2 separate regions of the Homo sapiens genome follow, and region 1 is linked to region 2. Evidence: promoter capture Hi-C in 16 types of primary human blood cells and fetal thymus (Javierre and others, 2016). All regions are on one chromosome and are shown on one strand. Each heading gives the region's core, a stretch centred on a gene start or on the middle of the fragment in contact. The rest is flanking DNA. Distances are from core to core; before and after follow the strand shown. Region 1 holds the start of BORCS7-ASMT (BORCS7-ASMT readthrough (NMD candidate)). Region 2 holds the start of CALHM3 (calcium homeostasis modulator 3).

The links. Contacts are between HindIII fragments. The CHiCAGO score rates a contact against its expected background, and 5 or more counts as called.
Region 1: the fragment with the promoter of BORCS7-ASMT here is called in contact with the fragment with the promoter of CALHM3 in region 2 in 1 of 17 cell types (neutrophils); the score reaches 7.4 in neutrophils.

Annotation. Positions count from the first base shown.
Region 1 is chr10:102,852,317-102,857,162 of GRCh38, forward strand. BORCS7-ASMT (BORCS7-ASMT readthrough (NMD candidate)) reads left to right here and starts at 1,894. Exons shown (of 15, transcript NR_037644.1): 1 at 1,894-2,111. It overlaps BORCS7 (BLOC-1 related complex subunit 7), which reads left to right and starts at 1,943. Exons shown (of 5, transcript NM_001136200.2): 1 at 1,943-2,111. The coding sequence starts at 1,971. RefSeq lists enhancers at 1,463-1,976, 1,959-2,018, 1,977-2,489, 2,089-2,278, 3,286-4,258. The HindIII fragment of the contact is 18,616 bases long and covers 1-4,846 here.
Region 2 is chr10:103,477,698-103,482,136 of GRCh38, forward strand. CALHM3 (calcium homeostasis modulator 3) reads right to left here and starts at 1,543. Exons shown (of 3, transcript NM_001129742.2): 1 at 1,049-1,543. The coding sequence starts at 1,335. NEURL1-AS1 (NEURL1 antisense RNA 1) reads right to left here. Exons shown (of 4, transcript NR_120675.1): 4 at 1,906-2,300. RefSeq lists an enhancer at 1-101. The HindIII fragment of the contact is 14,732 bases long and covers 1-4,439 here.

The sequences.
Region 1 (4,846 bases), core at 644-3,143, 630 kb before region 2:
TTGAATACAGGTAATTTTGAACAAAATTTTCAATACAATAACATTCTCACATCTTTTATTAACTAAAAAAGAAATGGAGCTACTTGAAATATTTTATTTTTTTTTTGAGACAGAGTCTCACTCTGTCGCCTAGGCTGGAATACAGTGGCATGATCTCGGCTCACTGCAACCTCTGCCTCCCGGGTTCAAGAAATTCTCCTGCCTCAGCCTCCAGAGTAGCTGGGACTACAGGTGCCCACCACCACGCCCGGCTAATTTTTGTATTTTTAGTAGAGACGGGGTTCCACCATGTTGGGCAGGCTGGTCTCGAACTCCTGACCTCAGGTGATCCTCCCGCCTCAACTTCCCAAAGTGCTGGGATTACAGGCGTGAGCCACGGCACCTGGCCTACTTGAAATATTTTACATATTAATTCACTTACAAGGTGGTTACCATCAGTTTGGTATTAATACAATAAAGAGGTTATCAATAAAAATTACTAGTGATGTTGAGCATTTTTCACATTTATCAGCCAGTTGATTTTTTTTTTTGAATTGCCTACTTGTGCCTTTTGCCAATTTTTCTATTAGATTGTTTTTCCTTCTTCATTTGTTTACAGGCCTATCTGCCTCATCAGCCTGGGAGTTCCACAGAGACAAGAACTGTATTTCATTTCTTTCTCTATCCCCAGCCTAGTACAGTGTCTGGTATTTAGTTCATGAAATGTTTGTTAAAATTGAATGGAATGAGGCCAGGTGCAGTGGCTCACGCCTGTAATCCCACCATTTTGGAAGGCCAAGGCTGGTGGATCATTAGATGTCAGGAATTTGAGACCAGCCTGGCCAACATGGTGAAACCCTATCTCTACTAAAAATACAAAAATTAGCCGGGCCTGGTGGCAAGCACCTGTAATCCCAGCTACTTGGGAGGCTGAGGCAGGAGAATCACTTGAACTCAGGAGGCGGATGTTGCAGTGAGCTGAGATCGAGCCACTGCACTCCAGCCTGGGCAACAAAGCGAGACTCCATCTCAAAAAAAAAATAAAATAAAATAAAATTAAATAAAATGAGACAAGTTATCGCTATGTTGCCCAGGCTGCTGATACTGAACTCCTGGCCTTGAGTGACCCTTCTGCCTCGGCCTCCCAAAGTGCTGGGACTACAGGTGTGTCACCATATGGATAGGTTGGCCTTGAACTCCTGACCTCAAGTGATCCACCTTGGCCTTTCAAAGTGTTGGGATTACAGGCGTGAGCCACCACGCCTGGCCCCTTGTCTCAATTAATCAAAAAAAGGCCTAGGCAACAGAACAAGACTCTGGGGAAAAAAAAATATATATGTATATATATATGTGTATATATATGTATATATATGTATATATGTGTATATATGTGTATATATATGTGTATATATATATATGTGTATATATATATGAATGGAATGATATTCTCATAACCCCTTGGAAACATTATTACTTCTGTTTAACAGATGAGGAATATAAGACAGAAGCTGAGTAATTTGCAGCCACACACTGCTAAATGGTAGCATTGGGACTGTAATCCGGGCCTTCTGATTCTTTTTAATTATTTGTATTAATTTTAATTTTATTTTATTTTTAAAGAGATGGAGTTTCGCTATGTTGCCCAGGGTGGTCTGGAACTCTCAGGCTCAGGTGATCCTCCTGCCTGGGTCTCCCAAAGGGCTGGGATTTCAGGCGTGCGCCGCCATGCCCTGCCGCAGGCTTTCCGATTCTGAACCATAGAGTCAATGAAACTGTCCTCCATCCCCTCCAGAGATGTTTGCCTGGACCCTGTTTTCCTCAGGATATCAATGAATAGTTCATGAGTTTAGTGAGCAAAGGTCAACCTCCATCAGGCGCATGCGTCCCTTCCTTTTCCCATGGAGGAAGAGACGCCTCTTTTCCTTCCGCTTTGCTTGTCTTTTGGCCCCGGCGACTCACCATCGTCAGTGCGCAACCGTTCGCTAACTGAAATGATGGCGACTGGAACGCCAGAGTCTCAAGCGCGGTTCGGTCAGTCCGTGAAGGGGCTTCTCACGGAGAAGGTGACCACCTGTGGTACTGACGTAATCGCGCTCACCAAGCAGGTGCTGAAAGGCTCCCGGAGCTCCGAGGTGAGCTGGAAGTGGACTCTCCCGGCCTGATAGTCCGGGGAGTCGCAGTCTTTCGTTGCTGTGGGAAGGAGGTCGCGTTGCATCTTGGGAATTGTAGGCTGTGAAGTACTTGCTATGAGTAGGTCTTCTTCGCGGAGGCGCGTGTTGCATTCTGGGGTGTGCAGTCTCTTTGGTTAGGGACAGTGTGTGAGGGTTGGGGGAAGAAGCGATGCCATGGGAACCTGTGCTTTAAAACAGCTCTTTGGGAGGCCGAGGCGGGCGGATCACCTGAGGTCGGGAGTTCGAAACTAGCCTGACAATCATGGAGAAACCCCCGTCTCTACTAAAAAATAATAATTAAAAAAATATATAGCCGAGCGTGGTGGCACATGCCTGTAATCCCAGTTACTTGGGAGGCTGAGGCAGGAGAATTGCTTGAACCTGGGAGGCGAATTATATATATAAGTATTATATATTACGTATTATATAATATATATACGTATATATTATATATAATGTGTATGTATATATTACATATATAATATACATATATATTATATATAATATATGTAATATATATTATATATATTTTCAACTAGAGGTGTTTATAGTTAACCACCTGTAAATATTCAACATATTCATCATAATAAACGTACATTTATTTAGCATTTTATATATGCTAGACACTGTTGTCTTTTATGGAGTTTAATTCATGAAGTCTTTAGAATGACTAATTGAAGGAAGTACTTTTCCTTTTTTTTTTTTTTTTTTGAGACGGAGTCTAGCTCTGTCGCCAGGCTGGAGTGTAGTGGTGTGATCTTGGCTCACTGCAACTTCCGCCTCCTGGGTTCAAGTGATTCTCCCGCCTCAGCCTCCTGAGTAGCTGGGATTACAGGCACGCACCACCACACCTGGCTATTTTTGTATTCTTAGTAGAGATGAGGTTTCACCATGTTGGCCAGGCTGGTCTCGAACTCTTGACCTCATGATCTGCCTGCATCAGCCTTCCAAAGTGCTGGGATTACAGGCGTGAGCCACCGCTCCTGGCAGCATTGCTTCTTGAGCAGTCTCCACATAGCTATTTTGTTTGATTAGCTGAGAATTTCATGTGTAAAAAACTCATTCCACAGTATTCATTTAACAAATACTTATTGGGTGTCTGCTATGTGCCAGGAACTGCTCTAGGTACACGGAATAAACAAAACTAAATCCCTCTACTTGGGAAGTTTACATTTTAGTGAAGAGACAGACGATAAACAAGTGAAACAGAAAAAAATCAGGTGGTGGTAAATCCTGTGAAGCAAAATTAATCTGGGAATAGAGAGTGATGAAAGGGTTAATCTTTGTTTGTTTGTTTGTTTTGAGACAGAGGAGGAGTCCCACTAGCTCTGTCACCCAGGCTAAAGTGCAGTGGCCCGATCTCGGGCTCACTGCAACCTCTGCCTCCTGGGTTCAAGCGATTCTCCTGCCTCAGCCTCCTGAGTAGCTGGGATTATAGGCGCCTGCCACCACACCCAGCTAATTTTTGTGTTTTTAGTAGAGATGGGGTTTCACCATGTTGGCCAGGCTGGTCTCAAACTCCTGACCTCAAGTGATCCTTCCCGCTTTGGCCCCCTAAAGTGCTGGGATTACAGGCATGAGCCACCACACCCGGTCGAAAGGGTTAATCTTAAACAGATGATCAGGGAAGGGGTCTCTGGGGAGAGAGCCTGTGAGGAGAAACACACTGACATTTGCCCACAGCATAATGAGTGGTTATGACTCATAGGCTTGTCTCTTGCATGCCTGCGCTTCTCCTCCTCCATTTGAGTTGTGTGCTTAGTGAGGGTCCATTGTGTTTTTTTCTAAACATCATGTGTCTGTGGGCTGGGCGCAGTGGCTCATGCCTGTAATCCTAACACTTTGGGAGGCCGAGGCAGGATTGCTTAAGCCCAGGGGTTCGAGACCAGCCTGGGCCACATAGTGATATCTTGTCTCTGTAAAAAAAGGAAAAAAAAAAAGAATGAAAACAATTTTTTAAATGTGTGTATGGCACTTATGCTTACAGTTGCAACTACGTAATTTAATGAAATAATACGAAAAATGAAATATGAGTACCAAAAAAGAGGGTTGCTATTGCTATGAAAACTAAGTTGAAAATCAGAAACACTTGTTGAAGATGAGTAGCTAAGACAAATTGTTATTGAGTTAATTATGAACAAGTTAATGGTAAAAGCCTAGGAGAAAAATTTATAGAAATCTAAAAAGATTCTGTAGTGAAGATTGTTTTACAGGTGTATTCAAGATGTTCTTCCATTTTAAAGAAAGCAAAACTAGAAATCTCAGATGGTATGTTATGTGTCTGGTCTGTTTATGTAGGAAAGTGATGCAGAATGCCAATGAATATATCAAGGAAAAGCCTTGGCTTTACATTACAACAGCCCCTGCCTTCAAGGCAACCACAACTCCCATTGAGTCTGTTTTCTAAATGTCTCACAAATCCTTTGTTTCTTTTTTTCTTGGCTACTTCTGTGTTTCAGGCCATCCTCATTCCTTGCTTAGAGTACTGCTGTGTCATCCTAACCAATCTCTCTGCCTCATTCCCCACTCTAGTCCACCTGCTTACCACATTTCTAAAACAGAAAAATGGATCATGCCATTTTTCTCTAGAATTACACACAAAGATGAATTCTAAACCCTAACTTTTAAGTCTCAGATTAGAAGTCACTTCTTTTAGGGACCTTTCCTGAACACCTACCCCTGTAATCAGTTAGACA
Region 2 (4,439 bases), core at 293-2,792:
TAGCTGGGACCACAGGTGCCCAACACCACGCCCAGCTAATTTTTTATATTTTTTAGTAGAGATGGGGGTTTTGCCATGTTGGCCAGAGTGGTCTCGAACTCCTGACCTCAGGTGATCCACTCGCCTCGACCTCCCAAAGTGCTGGGATTACGGGTGAGAGCCACCGCGCCTGGCCCCCCCACCCAATCTCTGGCTCCTTATTTTCCCCCAAGGCTAGCCATAGAAACTAGAATCCATCTTCCCCAAGGTGGGTCATAGAAACCAGAACTCCTTTTCTCCAAAGCTGCCACCATAAAACCTAAAAATATGATTCTAATTTCCCCCCGCCTTTCTGTCTGAAAACTGGCCGTAAAGAAATGATCTGACCTACCTAGTTTCATTGTAGATCATAAGACTCCCTTCTAGAGAGGGTCCTGCCCCGTGTCTGGGAGAAAGGAACACTGTATAGAGAGGCCAAGAAGAACCTAGATGGCCTTGCTGAGTTTCCCCACTCCGTCTATAACATCAGTTCATCCCTTTTTTAATCCAATTCTATTTCTGCGTGGCTATCCAAACCTTGTTGAACCTAAGCATAAAAATGAACCATTTCCTCTGTATCTTTAGGTCTTTATTCTGAAGGTTCTGTGGCACATAAAACGGTAATCAAATAAATTTGTATGCCTTTTCTCTTATTAATCTGCCTTTTGTCAGTTGATTTTCAGCAGAGCTTCAGAGGGCAAAGAGGAAGTTTTCCCGCAGCCCCTAGAGTGGCCTGGGTAATTGGGAATCCTGTGTCATTCCTATGTTTACAGCACTGGCCACGGAAAGGTGACAAACGATAGGAACAGAAATATGTTTCCAGAGTGGAAACTGGCAAGTGGCTCTCTGTGAGCCGATAATTCCTAGTTGGGGAAAGGAGAGGGCGCACCTGGCAGTACCTGTAGGGTGGGTGGAGAATCCCCTGATAATGAGAATGGTTGGGGTCTGGGGGTGCACTTGACAGTGCCTGTGGGGTGGCTGGGGAGCCCCTGGCAAAGCTCATGGGTCACTGAGTGGTGTGGGACCGCACCTGATGATGCCTGGGTCCTTCCTCCGGTGCCCTGCGGGCCGGCGCCACTCCTCGACCATCACCACAGACTGCCGGTTGGCGAGGAGGCCGCAGAGAAACAGGGCGAGCGGGGGCGTCAGCAGCAGGCCCAGGCCGTAGAGTGCATTGTAGTGCACCAGGCAGGGACAGTTGAAGTCAAAGGAGGAGTACAGCTTGACGGTGACCGCAGCCAGCAGCAGGCAGATGCCATTCATCACCGACTCCGAGCTTGACTGGAAGTGCTGGAAGAGCATGCGGAATTTATCCATGGCTCCAGCCTGGGTGGGTGGGCGGCCGTCGGTTCGGCTCAGTGAGGCTCTGGCCACCTTCCTGGTGTCTGCTGTGCTGGGGACGAGCCTGGGATCTGCAAGAGGTTCTCTCTCTGCTTCCAAGGGCCTGAGGGGCCAAGGAGGAAGCAGTGCCCAGGCCCCAGCCCAGGCTCCCGGGATCCAGTAGGCACTTAAGGCAGGGACAGGCTCTCACCACAAAGGCTCCCCTGCCCAGCCCAATGGTCCCCTGGTGCCACTCCCCTCCTGTCTGGGGGAGTGAGTCACCCTCTGTGACCGGGCAGCCCAAAGCACCTCTAGGCAAATGGGCCCCGCCCTGTCACTCCATTCCTCCCGGCCCATTTCTCTTTGCTTTACGGTCTGGATGCTCAGGCTTGACAGCCGTTGGAGCTTCCTTCGGGGGACAGGCAAATTCTGGGTGTGGTGAGGAAAAGATGCTGATGGAGCCAAGGTAGTATATTTTCTGGTCTTGATCAAAAGCATGACTCTGAACTTGTCTCACAGGCATAGTAAAACAACAGCAACAACAACAACAAAATATGACGACTCAGCTCAGCCCAGGGAGATTTCATGTTGGCTTTCAGGCTAGGAGGAGCCAGAAGGGGCACCTATTCCTGACCGAAGGCTTCCTGGAAGAGGAGACCCTTGAGAGGAGTCTTCAACGATGTTTCAGCATTTGCCATGAAAGGGGTAGCGGAAGGGGATGGCCTCCCTGGGCGACGTGCTAAACATTGTGCATTAACCACTGGGTGCCCATGGGAGAGGCTGCTCAAGTGCCACGCCCACACCTGCATGGCTTTCCCCCTGCCCTTCTTCCGTGTGAGGGGCATGCGTTTGAAATCACTGCTTCTTCTCCTAACTCTCCCACATCACTAGGTCTCTCCTTGTGTCTCAGTTCCAGTCTCTCCGAAGGATGACAGCCCAGATGTTTGAGGGACCCCTGAAACCTGCAAAACGAATTTTGTAAAGGTCACTTGGCCCATATTGTAAGTCAGATCATCCCAAATAAGTCTTGCAAATTTCGTAACCATCTGTGTGGTCTGTACTTCTGATGAAGACAGACAGAAACCTGGGTCTTACTTATTATTATTATTATTATGAGATAGAGTCTTGTTCTGTCACCCAGGCTGGAGTGCAGTGGCACGATCTTGGTTCACTGCAGCCTCTGCCTCCCGGGTTCAAGTGATTCTCCTGCCTCAGCTTCCAAGTAGCTGGGATTACAGGCACCCACCACCACGCCCAGCTAATTTTTGTATTTTTAGTAGAGACAGGGGTTTTGCCATGTTGGTCAGGCCGGTCTCGAACTCCTGACCTCAGGTGATTTGGCCCCCTTGGCCTTCCAAAGTGCTGGGATTACAGGCATGAGCCACTGAGCCTGGCCACTTAGTATTTTTATTTTCCATATTTGTACGTTACTCTAGGTCCTATGAGACAGATTTCCCTGTGTGAGGGAAATGAGGCACTGGAGAAGATGGGGAGAGCCACCAGTGGCCCTGTGAGTCTGACTCTGAGCGGAGGAGAGGGCGGGGCAGGGGTGAGAAACCCTTCAAGCCAGGAGGACCACCACAACTTCAGGTGGGTACAGTCCCAGAGGGGCTGTTGGAGGTCACATACCCTGGCGGGGACAGAGCCAGGGAGGAAGCTGGGATCCTCCATCTGTGCCTTTCAGCCTTAGTCACCCACTGGGCTGCTGACCAGAAAAGGGGACTGTCCTGGCCCAAGGCCAGGCTTCGTGACCCTGAACCAGCAGGGCTGGTGTGGAGCAGGCGGGGAGCTAACTGGGCTGGGAGGGTCATGAGCACCCCTCAATCCCATTCTAGTCTCAGGGAGGGATAGAGTGTCCTAAGGGTCCCCAGCCACTCTAACCTTGAGAGTTCAGAAAACAATAGACAATGCTTCTGGAAGAACACTTTGAAGAAAACTGGGTCAAAGACTCCAGGCCAACCTTTTCACAGCTCCAGCCTCTGAGAGGTAAGACAGAGCTACCAGGTCAGCCTGGGTCCCTGGAGCCCTGCAGGGCAACAGGTGCTGAGTGACTGCAGCGGGGCTGACCCTTGCCGGGTATTTACAGGAAATACTTCAGTAAAGAAACAGGCCAGAAAGAAGCCCACCACAAAAGGGATATTATCTGTCAAAGAGAGGGGATGGCTTACATTTTTTTTTAAATCTCTATTTTCTGAATTGTCGACTTTTATAATAGTAGACATAATAAATCATTACTATAATCATAATAATGATTTTTAACTATTTCCAGCAAAAATCATAAAACATTTTAATTAGAAAAACATAAAAAGATAAAAGGACAAGGCAAAAAGGAGAATTCCATTTTGTTGCCTGGAGCTTGGCCCTGCTGAACTAGTAGAGAGAGAACTAGAGGCAGCAATAAATGGAGAAAGGCTTCTTTTACTCACACATATGGAAAGATATTAAATTGCAGATCTGGCCGGGCGTGGTGGCTCACGCCTGTAATCCCAGCACTTTGGGAGGCCGAGGCAGGCAGATTGCCTGAGCTCAGGAGTTTGAGACCAGCCTGGCCAACATGGCAAAACCCCATCTCTATTAAAAATACAAAAAATTAGTCGGGCATAGTGGTGCATGCCTGTAATCCCAGCTACTTGGGAGGCTGAGGCTTGAGAATTGCCTCTCTTGAGGCTGAGGCATGAGAATTGCTTGAACCCAGGAGGCGGAGGCTGCAGTGAGCCCAGATCATGCCACTGCTCTCCAGCCTGGGCAACAAAGAGAGACTAAAAATAAATTACATTTTTCTTTTTAATAATGATTTAATCTTTTTTTTTTTTTTAAAACCAGTTGTAAATATGTGTTAATTTGCAATTGGAAGATCTTTATAGAATAAATCTTTGGTACTTTCTTCATGTTATTTTGTTTTATTTTCAAATTGGAGTCTTGCAGATATATTCTTGGGGGTCTTCCAGTTTTTTTTGATCTTTGCAAAGGAGTCTGGATATTATTTGAGAAACACTGGCTTCACCGTTCTTGGAGTTCCTGTTATTGAGAGGGCTGTTTAGGACTAGATGCCCCCTACTGGAGAAACTCGTTGTATGTGATGTGTGAGAGATGTGTCTATG